3 separate regions of the Homo sapiens genome follow, and all the other regions are linked to region 2. Evidence: promoter capture Hi-C in human tissues and cell types (Jung and others, 2019). All regions are on one chromosome and are shown on one strand. The core of a region is centred on a gene start or on the middle of the fragment in contact, and the rest is flanking DNA. Distances in the headings are between cores, read along the strand shown. Region 1 has its middle 23 kb from the start of CAPNS2. Region 2 holds the start of CES1 (carboxylesterase 1). Region 3 holds the start of SLC6A2 (solute carrier family 6 member 2).

Evidence for each region. The method cuts DNA at HindIII sites, captures the fragments that hold promoters and counts their contacts. A contact is called where the count stands out against the background at its distance.
Region 1: a contact is called between a fragment that was not itself captured here and the fragment with the promoter of CES1 in region 2, in 2 of the 25 tissues and cell types used here (H1 embryonic stem cells and spleen).
Region 3: the fragment with the promoter of SLC6A2 here is called in contact with the fragment with the promoter of CES1 in region 2 in 1 of the 25 tissues and cell types used here (mesendoderm cells).

What each region holds. Positions count from the first base shown.
Region 1 is chr16:55,587,810-55,592,254 of GRCh38, reverse strand. No RefSeq gene overlaps it. Among named protein-coding and RNA genes, the nearest start is that of CAPNS2, 23 kb to the right of the region's middle. The HindIII fragment of the contact is 4,617 bases long and covers 1-3,723 here.
Region 2 is chr16:55,831,516-55,835,711 of GRCh38, reverse strand. It overlaps CES1 (carboxylesterase 1), which reads left to right and starts at 2,616. Exons shown (of 14, transcript NM_001025195.2): 1 at 2,616-2,708. The coding sequence starts at 2,657. The HindIII fragment of the contact is 6,998 bases long and covers 1,770-4,196 here.
Region 3 is chr16:55,653,273-55,657,348 of GRCh38, reverse strand. It overlaps SLC6A2 (solute carrier family 6 member 2), which reads right to left and starts at 1,361. Exons shown (of 15, transcript NM_001172501.3): 1 at 1,180-1,361; 2 at 381-705. The coding sequence starts at 654. It overlaps LOC124903693 (a long non-coding RNA gene), which reads left to right and starts at 1,236. Exons shown (of 2, transcript XR_007065075.1): 1 at 1,236-1,750; 2 at 3,410-4,076. RefSeq lists an enhancer at 574-1,109. The HindIII fragment of the contact is 17,922 bases long and covers 1-4,076 here.

The DNA of each region.
Region 1 (4,445 bases), core at 166-2,665, 240 kb after region 2:
GAGAAAGGGATACCAGAGCGCTCTCTCTCTCTCTCTCTCTCTCTCTCCAGACATGTATAGAGAGAAGAGACCATGTGAGGACACATGAGTAGGCAGCTGTCTATAAACCAGAAATCTTATCAGAAACCATCCTTAATAGCATCTTGATCTTGGACTTCTAGCCTCTAGAAGTGTAAGAAAATAAATTTCTGGTTTTTTTAAGCCTCCCAGTCTGTGTTATTTTGTTATGGCAGCCTAAGTAGACTAATATAGCTACTAAGCTGCACATGCTCAGCGAAAGACTCCATGAGGACAGATAAAGAACATCTATTGGAGAAACAAAAAGTACTGAGGAAAGAATATCTACAGAGGAAGCTGTATATTGAATAACTACTGAAGCTCACACAAGGTTAAAACACATTTGATTTTTGAACAGCCAGAGCGTAGAGACCTTGTTGAATATACAGGAGATTCAAAAGAGACCCTCAGAAAGGCTACACTTTAGGCATAAGGCTAATGTAATCCTAGAGTAAAGAATACTATGGACTCTTTCTTGTAAAACCTTAAAATAAGCTTAGAAAGAACCAGGCTGATCTGCAAGTAAATTAACTACCTGGCAGAACAAAACTAGACACCCGATTTAAGGATGACAGCCAAATCTAGACACTTAATAAAGTGGCATCCATAATGTCCAGGATATAACACAAAATTATCAGACATGTGAAGAAAAAGGAAATATGACCTATTACTAGGAGGTAAATCAGCGATAGAAATAAAATCAGGAATAACAAACACAGAATAGGAAATAAGAACTTTAAAACTACATATAAATATATTCTAGAAATTTAGGAAATCTGTGAACATAATGAGAGAATAGGAATTCTCATTAGCCAAATAGAAACTAAGAAAAAAACTAAATAAAAGTTCAAGAAGCATAAAATGTGGTATCTGAAATGAAACATTTATACTGCAGGAGACACAACTGGTGAACTTGAAGAGCAACAAAAAATATGAAAACCAAAGCATACAGAAAAAGGAAGATGAAAAAAATTAACAGACTCAGTGACCTATGGAATAGTCCAAATGGGCTAACATATATGTAATTAGAGGAGAGAAATGAGAAAGATTAGGGGCAGAAAAATTATTTGAAAAAAATAATAGCTGAAAATTTTCCAAATTTCATGAAAACTCTAAACTTACAGATCCAAGCAGTTCAATAAACCCCAGAAGCATAAAGAATATTGCACCAAGGCAAATCATAATACAATTTTTCAAAACTAGTAATAAAGAAAAAAAAATGTTAAAAGTAGCCTGATGATAAATTACATACAACAGAACTAGGAAGATAATTATTGTTAATTTCTCATCAGAGACAATAAAAAGAAAAAGACAATGAAATCTGTAATGTACTAGAAGGAAAAGAAAATCAACCTAGAATTCTATATCCATCAAAAATATTCTACAAAAATGAAGCCAAAATAAAGACACATTTAGACAAAATAAAGTTGAGAGAACTTATCGACAGAAGACTTGTGCTACAAGAATTGTTCAAGGAAGGTCCTCATGCTTAAGGAAAATGATGAAAAGTGGAACTATATAAAGAAGAGTGCTAGAAACAGTAAATATGTAGATAAATATAAAATACCTTTCTTTATCAAAGTCTTACTTTCTCTCAATGGTAATTGTTTATAACAAAAATAATTAAAGTGTCTTGTGGGGTTTAAAACACATAAATAACATATGACAATAGCAGAAATAATAAGGTAGAGTAAAATGAAAGTATATTGTTGTAAGGTTCACATGCTATAGGTGAAAAAGTATACTGTTATTTGAAAGTAAACTATATTACATTAAAGATACAGTTTAGATGTGAAAGATATTATAAGCCTTGGAGCGACCATTAAAAATAGGTAATTATATCTAATAAGCCAAAAGAAAATATAAAATGATAAAATGTCAAAAAAAATGATTAATTCAAAAGAAGTCAGAAAAGGAAGAGAGAGTATCCTAGAACAGATGGAACAAACAGAAAACAAAAAGCAAGATAGTAGACTCTGTATGGTAGTAAACCTAATTGTATCAATAATTACATTAAATGTAGGTGGAGTAACTGCTCCAATTAAAAGACAGAAATTGTCATATAGAATAAAAAAATCAAGGCCTGAATGGGTCATAAAACATTCATTTAAGAGATGCATTTAAAAAATAAGGACACAAGTTAATAGTAAAATGATGAAAAACTATAAACCATGCAAACACTAATGATAAGAGAGTTGGCATGGTTGGAGTAGCTATGGTAACATTAGGAGTATTACTAGAATTAAAGAGGCATATTTCATAATGATAAAAGGGTCAATTCATCAAGACTATATGAAAATCATAAGTGATTATGAATCTAAGGGCAGGACGTCAAACAAACTGACTGCCAATAAAACCATGGTTGCAGCTGACAATTTCAATATCCCCTTTTCAATAATTATAGAATAAGCAGACAAAAAAATCAGTGAGGCTATAGAGGGCTTATATAGCATTACTAACTAACTGAACCTAATTTACCTTTACTGAACATTACATTCAACAAATGCAGAACACATATTCCTTTCAAATGCACATGGGACATTCAACAAGACATACATAGACTGGGCCATAAAATGAGTTTTGAAACATTTTTTTAATTGAAAGTTTTTGAAAAATCAGAGATTCTTTCCCCCTGCTCCAACCAAGCACCCAGCCCAAGACAGAAAAGTTTCCTCATTGTCTTTCTTTGTCAGAAGATGGATTTTTCCAGTTCATTCTTTTACTGAGCCTCTAACCCTTCATCTGCTTTTTCTCCCATGAGGTCTCAGTTCAACATTCCCACCTTATACAAAAAGCTTGTTTTTGTCTTCCATAGCCAAAAAATACTAAGTCCCTTTGTTACTGAGATTGACAAATGTCTGCAGGACGACTGTAACTTTCAGGCTTTTACACAGTTCTGGTTTTCATCTGCTTTCCACTTTTGGCCATTGAGGAGTTCCCTCAGTATTTTACATGCTCATCTATGCATTTCAAAATATGTTTGTGATATTGTGTTCAGTATTCTAGGGGTTTCGTGGCCAGCAGGTTCTCAGGTTATCTAGTTCCCATGTTTCTGGAAGTTAAAGCCTGGTTATTTTAAGGGTTCAGGTTACTTTGGCCTAATCAAATATCCCCTCATTTAGAGCCGGGCAGCCTTGGGTTTGAAATCTAGCCTCGGTATTCACCAGTTACGTAACTCTGAGCAAGTGATGAAACTTCTCTGAGCCTTAACTTACATGTGAGTTTTAGAGATCGTTAAGTCTGGGTTTTCAAGTTTGTTGTAAGGATTGTCTCTAATCTTACACAATACAAGGCAGAATAAGCAAAAAAGTTAATGTTATCATTATTCATTCATTCATCAAAGATCGAGTGTTTGCTATGTGCCAGACATACCTTCTATGTGCTAGGAATAACAGACAATAAATGTATAAACAAGTAAATAGTTTCATGTAAGTTCAAGTGCAATAACAAACAGGTAGTGGGATTGAGAATGTGTGTAAAAACATAATGGGTATTTCTAATTAGTGACTGGAGTTCCTACTGGATGATGTGACATTTGATTTAAAATCTGAATCAAGATGAAAACGTTCTGAAATTAGAGTGTGATGGTTGTACAACTCTGTGAATATAATAAAAACATTAAAATGTATACCTTAAATGGGTAAATTGTATGTATATTAATTACATCTCAAGTAATTCATGAAGCTGTTTGTTTAAAAGTCTAAATGAAGAAGAGAAAGCCAGATAAAAATCTTGGGGAAAAACACTGTACCTAAGAGAACAGCAGCACAAAACTCTGAGGCTAGAATAGGGCATTAGCCAGTTTGAAGAAAAGATTTGCTGGTAGGAGTTTAGTGAGGGAGAAGATTGGAGACAGTTGAGATTTAGACTGTGGGTAGGAGCCAGACTCAACACACTATTTAAGGGTGACAGGGCTTTGTAGGCCATGTTGAATATTTTGAATTTTTTCCAAAATGCAATGGGGGCCTTTGAAAAAAAATTAAACTGGAAAAGTGATGTCTGGTTTATGCTGTGAAACAATCACTGTGCTTTCCATAAGGCAGGAGAATTAACAGGATAGAAAAAGCACAAACAGGAAGAAAAGCAAAGGAGATAATTCCACAGTAACTAGAATGAAGTCCTAGGTATCCCACTTTTGACTTAGTCCTCCGTTCCCTCAAACTCTACTTTATTGATTATATTCTTATTTTGAGAACAGAGGTGTGACTGAAAGGGCCATCATAGCAGAAGGACCAATAAGAAGTAGAGAATTCATGCTCCACCACTACCCACAAAGGAAAAAATTATTGTAGTATCCTGAAGTTCAAATTGTCTGATTTCCAGTACCTGGACTACTCACAGAAGGTTTTGACATTTTTGGCTGACTGAAAATAGGCCATTCTAAACCG
Region 2 (4,196 bases), core at 1,367-3,866:
CTTCCTTCCTTCCTTCCTTCCTTCCTTCCTTCCTCTCTCTTTCTTTCTTTGTCTCTCTCTGTCTTTCTTCTTCTTCTTCCTCTTCTTCTTTCTTCCCTCCTTCTCCTTCTTCTCCTTCCTCTTTTTCTTCTTCTTCCTTTCTCCTTATTCTTGTAGAGATAGGGTCTTACTATGTTTCCCAGGTTGGTCTTGAACTCCTCTCTCAAGCAATCTTCCCACCTTGGCTTGCCAAAGTGCTAGGATTACCGAGCGGGAAGGGTTGCCACAGTGCCCAGCCTCCCCTGGCTATTTCTATCCCTTCAGCCCTACCATGCTAAGCCTGGGTCAATGAGCTGACAAGGCAATTTGCCTTAGATAAGGCTACTGATTAGAATATCTTCCTGATGTATAAAAGCAAGAGAAATGGCTGCCAGCCACCCTGTGCTGGAAGGCAGAAGCCTCAAGTTCTGGTTCTGACTTTGCCATTGAGTTGCTGTGTGACCTTAGGCAATCCCTCCTCATCTCTGGGCCTTAGTTTCTTTTGGGAATAAATAACGGAATTGAGTTGAGCCTATGTATTAGTCTACTTAGGCTGCCAGAAGAAAATATCACAGACTGGGTGGCTTAAACAACAGAAATCAATTTAAGATCGTGAGACAGCATTAATCTCACGGGGTTATTTTGAGAACTGAGATCCTGCATACAAAACTCTCGGCATAGTGTTTGCCACACAGTAAGCTCTCAGTAAATATTTGTCAATGAATGTATGAAGGAATAAAAGTGGAAAATGCAAATAAGTGAAACACTGACAAGATTACAGCCAGGAAATGGCTGTTGTAATTCTAATTAGATATATAGACTTCCAGTATTTTCCTATGCAAATAAAGACATATGTTACTACCAAAACGGGACCATATTATACCTATCTAGATTTTCAAAAATATTTCATTATTTTATTGAAATATAAGTCACATGTCATAAAGTTTACCTTTTTAAAGTGTACAATCTAGTGGTGTTTAGTATATTCCCAAAGTTGCACTAACATCATCACTATTTAATCCCAGGACATTTTTACCACCCCCAAGATAAAACTCATGCCCATTAGCAGTCACTCCTCATCCCCGTCTCTTTCCCCTTCCCCAGACCCTGTCAAACACTTTCTGTCTCCATGGATTTGACTATTTTGGAAATTACATATAAAAAGCATCATACGACATGTGGCCTTTTGTGGCTGGCTTCTTTCCTTTACCATGATGTTTTCCAGCTTCATCCACGTTGTAGCATGTTCTTCTTATGGCTGGATGATATGCCTCTGCACGCATACACCACACTTCATTTACACATTCATCAGGTCATGGACATGCGGGTTGTGCCCACTTTTTGACTAGGATGAATGACACTGCTCTTTGTGTACAAGCTTTTGTGTGGACATGCTTTCAGTTCTCTTCGGTAGACACCTAGGAGGGGAATTGCTGGGTCATATGGAAACTCTGTGTTGAACTTTTTGAGGAACTGCCTACACCGCACAACAGTTTATAACCTATTATTTTCTCCTTTCACAACGCATCCTGTCTTCATTGTTAATAAATAGCTGTGCACATCACTATTTTGAGTGAATACATCGTATTTCCTTAGCCAGCGGTACCACAGTGTGTTTAGTGAATTCCCTATTGTTGGACATTTAATAATCCCATGAAAGAGGCTTTGAGTGACTTCCTTGTGTCCCCAGCAGCTTGTAAATGACAGTTTTCCAGGTGTGCCCAGAGCACTCTGTATCCCCTTAATTTGGTGATTTCACATTGCCTTGACATCACCCCTACTGCTCCTCCACCCCATCTGTCTTGTCTACAATGGTGAGCCCCTTGAGAAGCTGAACCATGTCTTGAATTGGTCTTTGTATCCATTATACATGGCCAGGTGCCAAGCATTTTGGTAAATGTTCACAAAATGGATGGGTACTTGGATGGATGGATGATAACAGCCAGGGACTATGGGGGGACGGAGTTCATTTTTACATTCTGTCCAAAAATCCCTGCTTTGGAAAGTAGTGAGTTCTCTGACACCGATGGTGTGTGACAGGAGGCTGGACCAGTTGGCAGGATATTGTGAAGCTAATTCAGGCCTCAGAAAGGGGACTCGATGAAATTTAAGATCGCTTCCAAGCTTGAGAGCCTGGAAAGCTATGAAAACACAAGCCCTGGGAGCTGAGATATGTCCTAACTTACCCAGCTGAGCTGTGAGGTGTGAGTGGCTCTAACATTTTCCAGTTGTTTCTGAGGACCTCAGATCAAAGCTTCCCTTTGCCTAAAAGCATCTGCCTGCTGGTGTGGGCCCTTGGGGGCCGTCACAGTGCACTGAGGTTAGAGTCCTGCAAGGGTGAACCCTTATGTAACAAGTAGTTGGGCAAGTTTACAGCTCTCTGTAATCTGACAGTAGAGTCCAGACTGGTTTGATGAAAGAGGGTAAACTGTGGGTGGGCGTGGCCTGAGGCCCCACTAGAAGCCCAGGGAGATCTGAGGAAAGGGAGGGCTTTTCTGATCTCTCCCAATTAGAGGATTAGGCAATTGGCAGCGCAGGGCGGTAACTCTGGGCGGGGCTGGGCTCCAGGGCTGGACAGCACAGTCCCTCTGAACTGCACAGAGACCTCGCAGGCCCCGAGAACTGTCGCCCTTCCACGATGTGGCTCCGTGCCTTTATCCTGGCCACTCTCTCTGCTTCCGCGGCTTGGGGTGAGTCCTTCTGAAATCAAAATGCGGGGCACTTTTTGAAATCCTTGTTCTGGGCCGAGGTGGGCGCAGATGCGTAGAAAGGCAAAGACACAACAGGTCCGGCTCTGCGGCGGGGCACGACTTCCATATTAGGACTTGGACTTGGAGCAGCTGAGCCCGGCCAGCCTGGCCCGCGCGGAGACGCAGGGAGGGTGAACATCCTGAGATCGCCCTGTACTGCTCGCCCAAATGCAGGCCGACAGCCGGCCCACCTCAGGCCGCACACACGAGAAATTTAGGCAGCTCAGTTTGCTGTCCCTTAATTAGTCCCCTTACGGCTGGATCACGGAGAGCGGCTCAACATAATATTAAGAGCATCGACTCTGGAGCCAGAGTGCGTGGGTTCGAGTCCCCGCTGGGCGCTTCCTCGCTGTGTGTCCTTAGGCAAGGGACTGCGCTATTCCGTGCTTGGGTTACCCCCTCTCTGAAACAGAGGTGGCAGTGCTGCCTACCTCACTGGGCTTTGGTGAGGAGGAAATGGGTGGCTGTTTCTAAAGCACTCTTGGCAGCGCCTGGTATGTAGAAAGCACGAAAAAGGGATGGATAAATAAAGGCGCTGTTTAAAAACGTAGTGTATGAATAGAAAATTTGAGCTGTGGTCAGGCCACTATATCAGGACCTCTTGCCATTAAAAAGACAGTTTCTTACTCATGTTCTCAACAGGAGGGGGACACCAGTGCGCGGGGCACAAGGGGAAGCAGCAGAGCCTGGGGAGGGGACAGGGCGGATCTGAGGCCAAGGGGCTTTTACTGTGGCTTCCAAGGATAGAAGAGGAAAGGCAGGGCAGGCAGGCTGAGGACTGGCAAGTTGGGATACTTCAGGGGCTCTGGGGCACAGGGGCTGTTCCTAATTGTTTTGTACCTAGCCCTGGCATGATTAGGGCAGGTGGGTAGTGGCCAGGGCATGGCAACCCGATCAAAGAGGCAGTTGGGGTGTGGGCTCTGGGGTGGCTGGACCCTGGGAGGGAGTTTCTCCAAGGTCAACAAGGCCTCAGATGCCAGAGCATCAGAATACAGAAAGCAAAACACATGGTACATAGAGGGGTGCAGCGAGGGGCCTCGAAATACCCCCATGCCATTTTATAGACAGAGAAACTGAGACTCACACAGGGAAATGTACTTGCCCAGGGTCAACCCGAAAATCACGCCTAGGTCTGTCTCTGGGTCCTGAATCCTGACAGCCCAGCCCCGTCTGCATCCTGTCTTCCTTCTGGCAGCCTGACACTGCGAGAGCTCTGGAACTGTGGGGAAGGGCAGAGAAGAGAGGAAGCCTATTTGGAACTGAATGTTCCTTTACCTCTGGTTACTCCTGGCAATGCCATCCATTTCCTTCCTTAGGAAGACCATACAGGCTGCCTCCACTTCCTCAGTTTCCTCCTCTGTAAAATGGGCATGTTGATGCCTACCCAGCAAGGCTTATTTGAAGATTAATTTAAAAAACTGGAATGCA
Region 3 (4,076 bases), core at 112-2,611, 180 kb after region 2:
TCCCTTCCAGCAGACCATCAAAAGGTCAGGCTCCCCCACCCAACCTGGCACCCCAGATTCTGTCCTTTCCATCCATACCCCTACCATGACTTTAGGGTCATGACTCGATTTCACTCTTCTGCTGTTTTGCTTCCAGGGTGCCCAATCCTGACACTTCCGCTGGAATGAGCTCGAGGTACTCTGCAAAGAGCCTGGGAAAATGACCTTCCAGAGGACTCCAATCTTTTTTTTTCCCGTTAGCCCTGTCCAGTTCTTTCTGCGCCCCAGATTTGCCCCTGTCTCCTCGCCTCCCTTCCGTGTGTATTCCAGCTCCTGTCCCAGCCACCGCTGCAGACAGTGGACCTCCCAGATTCAAATTCCCAGCCCGACCCCACGCTCACCGCCGCCGTTCTTGTAGCAGAGGTAGGGGAAGCGCCACACGTTGGCCAGGTCCACTGCGAAGCCGACTACGGACAGCAGGAAGTCGATCTTCTTGCCCCAGGTCTCCCGGGGCTGCGCGTCGCCGTCGCGGGGCGCCAGCAGGCACTGGACGCCGTTGCGCTCCTTCACCACCAGCAGCTCCGCAGTTTTGCGCGCCCGAAGGGGCTGCTCTGGACCCGTGTCCGCCCCGTTGTTCTCGGGCTGCACCTGCGGGTTCATCCGCGCCAGAAGCATGGATGCGGCTGGCGAGAGGAACTTTACCGGTCCTGGGGGCACGCCGAGGCTCTGCTTGGATAAAGGGAAAAGAGGTGGTTACCCGGCCGTTCCTCCCTACTTGCAACTCCCAAGACCACCCGGGAGCGCCTTAGACACTGGGATGAGCGCGCGCTGAGCGGACGCAGGGTTCCCAGAAAAGGGCGCGCGTCCGCTGGAAAAATTTGGAAACAGAGGTTGGGGCACGCCGGAACTCAAGAGTTGGAGACTTCTGACAGCCCTCTGGGGGCGGCTGAAGACCCTGCAGCACTTTTCCTCGTTCACCCACTCTCGCCTGCCCCAAATGGCTGGGATTGAACTCACCGAGGCTGAGGGCAGCGTGCCGACCCCCTCCCCAGCTCAGGTCCGCGACACTTCAACAGCCACAGGAGCCTTCTCGGACACTTAACGTCACTGCACTACAAACTCGCTAGCCCTCTGCTGGCGCGTCTCGGCCCGGGCCTCCCAGGCAGACCTAGCCCTGTCCCGCGCTCAGGGCGCACTCACGTGTCCGGCGGCGAGGGGATCCCTGGTGCCTTGCGCCCTGCCGGCCCCCGACCGGCGGCGCCTTGGCAGGCTCTAGGGCGCGGGCTGGGGCTGGGCTCCGCCGTGTGGCGTTCGGGCGGGGCCGGGGAAGAGCTGGAGGCGCGGGGCGGCCGGCAGGGCGCGGGCTGACTGGTTCTGGCCGTGCCTGGCGGGGGCCGGGCTGGTAATGTAGCCTGCGCCCCAGGTAACGCGCCGATTGCATTAACCCAGCGCCCGGCCCGCTCCGTCTGGAGCCTGTTAGCGCTAATGGAGACTGACAGCGCGGCCGGGGATGGGCAGGGGCGGGAGGGTGGCGCGGGTTCCCAGGGATCTGGGGGACTCGGGCGCGCACTCCCTTTCTATCCTGCGCCGAGCACCGCTCGCCGCTCCCAAGGACACCAGGCCTCTGATCTCCCACCACGGGGAGCGAGTGACAGACTCTCCAGAACTGGGGTCTGCGTCGCGTCAGAAAGGAGGCCAAAAAAGGACTGGGGAAGCAGCGACCGGTGCAGCACCAGCTCTGTCTTCCGCAGCAGGCCACTTAAACTATCTGGTCAGTTTCTTTATCAACGAAATGGGAATGTGCGGCTCAGGGCCCAGTGCTGCAAATAGGCGGCCAGCGGGCTGTTGGGCAGTTTTGTTTGAGCGGCTTAGCATGTTGACAGGTCACAGCCCAGCACTTACTCCTGCATCTCTGTTATTTATGGGCAGGGTAGCAGGTCATTTGAGGTTGTGACCCGTGTTCTGTGAGGCTGAGAACTACTATTTATTCTTTCAATTATTCATTCATTCACACCTTCACACATTTGTTCTTCCATATGCCCGCTGTGTGCCAGGCACTGTTCCGGGCTCTTGGATTACACTGGCGCAACATAACTCGGAGATTCCTGACCTCATGGAGTTTACATTCTGCTGGCGGAGACAGAGGAAACGGGAAACATAATAAATACACACGTTATATGATGGGTGAGGGAATGGGGGGACAGTGGGGCTGCAGTTTGCATACGGGGTCAGGGAATTTGAGAAGGTAACAATTAGACAAGTAAAGGAGTGAGCCATTTGGACCTGAGAGTCGTTTTCTCATTCATTCACTCATCTATTGATTAATGTATTAATCCCTTTAGCAGATGCTGATCATCTGCTGTGTGCGTGAACAGTGCTGGCTAGAGAGGAGATAGCCCCTGCCTTCAAGGAGCTCCCAGACCAGTGTATAGAGTCTATCACAACCCAGTGTGGTCAGGATGTGTTGTGACCACAGATGTGTGGAAGTAGGGTGGAGCTGAATCAGCAAGGGAAGCATCCTGTTGATCCAAGGAGGCTTCAGAGAGGTGGCCGTGCTAAGTGGGTTGGGTGGGGCTTGGATCAGCCCAGCCACACTGACCTTTCCATTCTGTAAACATCCTAAGCTCAAACCCACCCCAAGACCTTTACACTTGCTGTTTTCTCTGCCTGAGTTGTTCAGGTCTCAGTCCAGAGGTCCCTTCCCGACGACTCAAATCGAAAATACACGCTCACTCTATCCTATCACCCTATTTATTCATTTGTTACATCGCTATCCGAATTTGTCCTAGTTGTTTAACTTTATGTCCCCCCTTGGGTGGTATGTGAGCTCCATGAGCACAGGGACCTTGTCTGTCTTTTACAGCACGTGTTCTGGCACCTGGAACGTACTAGAGCATCAACCAGCCTATGAAGTGAATGAGTTAATGAATGAAAGAATGGTGGTGTGTGGCGGTGTTTAGAGCATCTGTACCAGAGGGACAATCGTGACAAATGTCCTCTGGGCAGGATGCAGAGGGGAGAGGAAGGGAAACCTAGAGGGGTATGGGTTCCCCTGGCTTCTGGGGAAGATGACAGAAGGCAGGTGAGGGAAAAGATTGAGCAGAGGTTTGAGGACAAGAGCTCAGAACTGTAGGTTTCCACACATGAAAGGTGTTTATCTCCTTTGATCTATTGGACGATCATGACAATCCTGTAAGGAAAGCAGGAAGAGAATCATCTTTCCACGTATCAGGTCAGGAAACTGTGGCTCTGTGGACTAAAGGGACTTGTCCAAGGTCCCACAGATTGGAAGTCACAGAGTGGAAATGAGAACCCAAGTCTCCTGGCCTCCAGCCTCTGCTCCCTCCACCAAGTCATGGTGGAGACACTCAGAATCTCTCTAGTAGTCATGGTCCCCTTCTCTCCTCTACCCCACACCCCATCCAACTAGTTTTCAAGTGCTGAGAATCCCACCTCTGAAACACCCTGCAAAGCCACAACAGAGGACCCTCATCACCCCTCACTGCAGCAGCCTCCTAGCTGGTCACCCCACGTTCAGTATCTTTCCAGCTGCATGATCGTCACCAGCTGCCAGAGCTCTACCTAGAACTCAAGTGCGACCACCTCACTCCTCTGCCTGAAACTCCTCTGAAACACACCAACACATAAATGTGATTTAATTAACTCTGGATTTGAGGTAATTTTATTTTCTTCTCTATACTTCTCTGTATATGCCAACTTTTCCACAATGAGCATTTGATATTTATGCAATCAGAAAAAGATAACCCACAATTTTAAAAAATCCTCCAACCTTTCCAAGATAATGCCTAAACACTTTGAGGAGTATAGACAAGACTCTGGCTATTTAACCACACCTCCTGCTATTCTAATTCTCTCCTCATTTTTCCTACAAATCCTTTATCACTTCCAAAATATGCTTTATTCTCCAGTAGTATGAGAGATACTAAACTACTAGTGGTTCCCTGAGTACCTTGTGCTTTTTTACACTTCTGGGTTTTTTAATATGCTGTTTCCATCATTCTTTTTTCTACCTGGAGAACTCCTACCCATCCTCCAAAACCTCCAGTCACCCTCACTGTGAAGCCTTCCCTGATAAC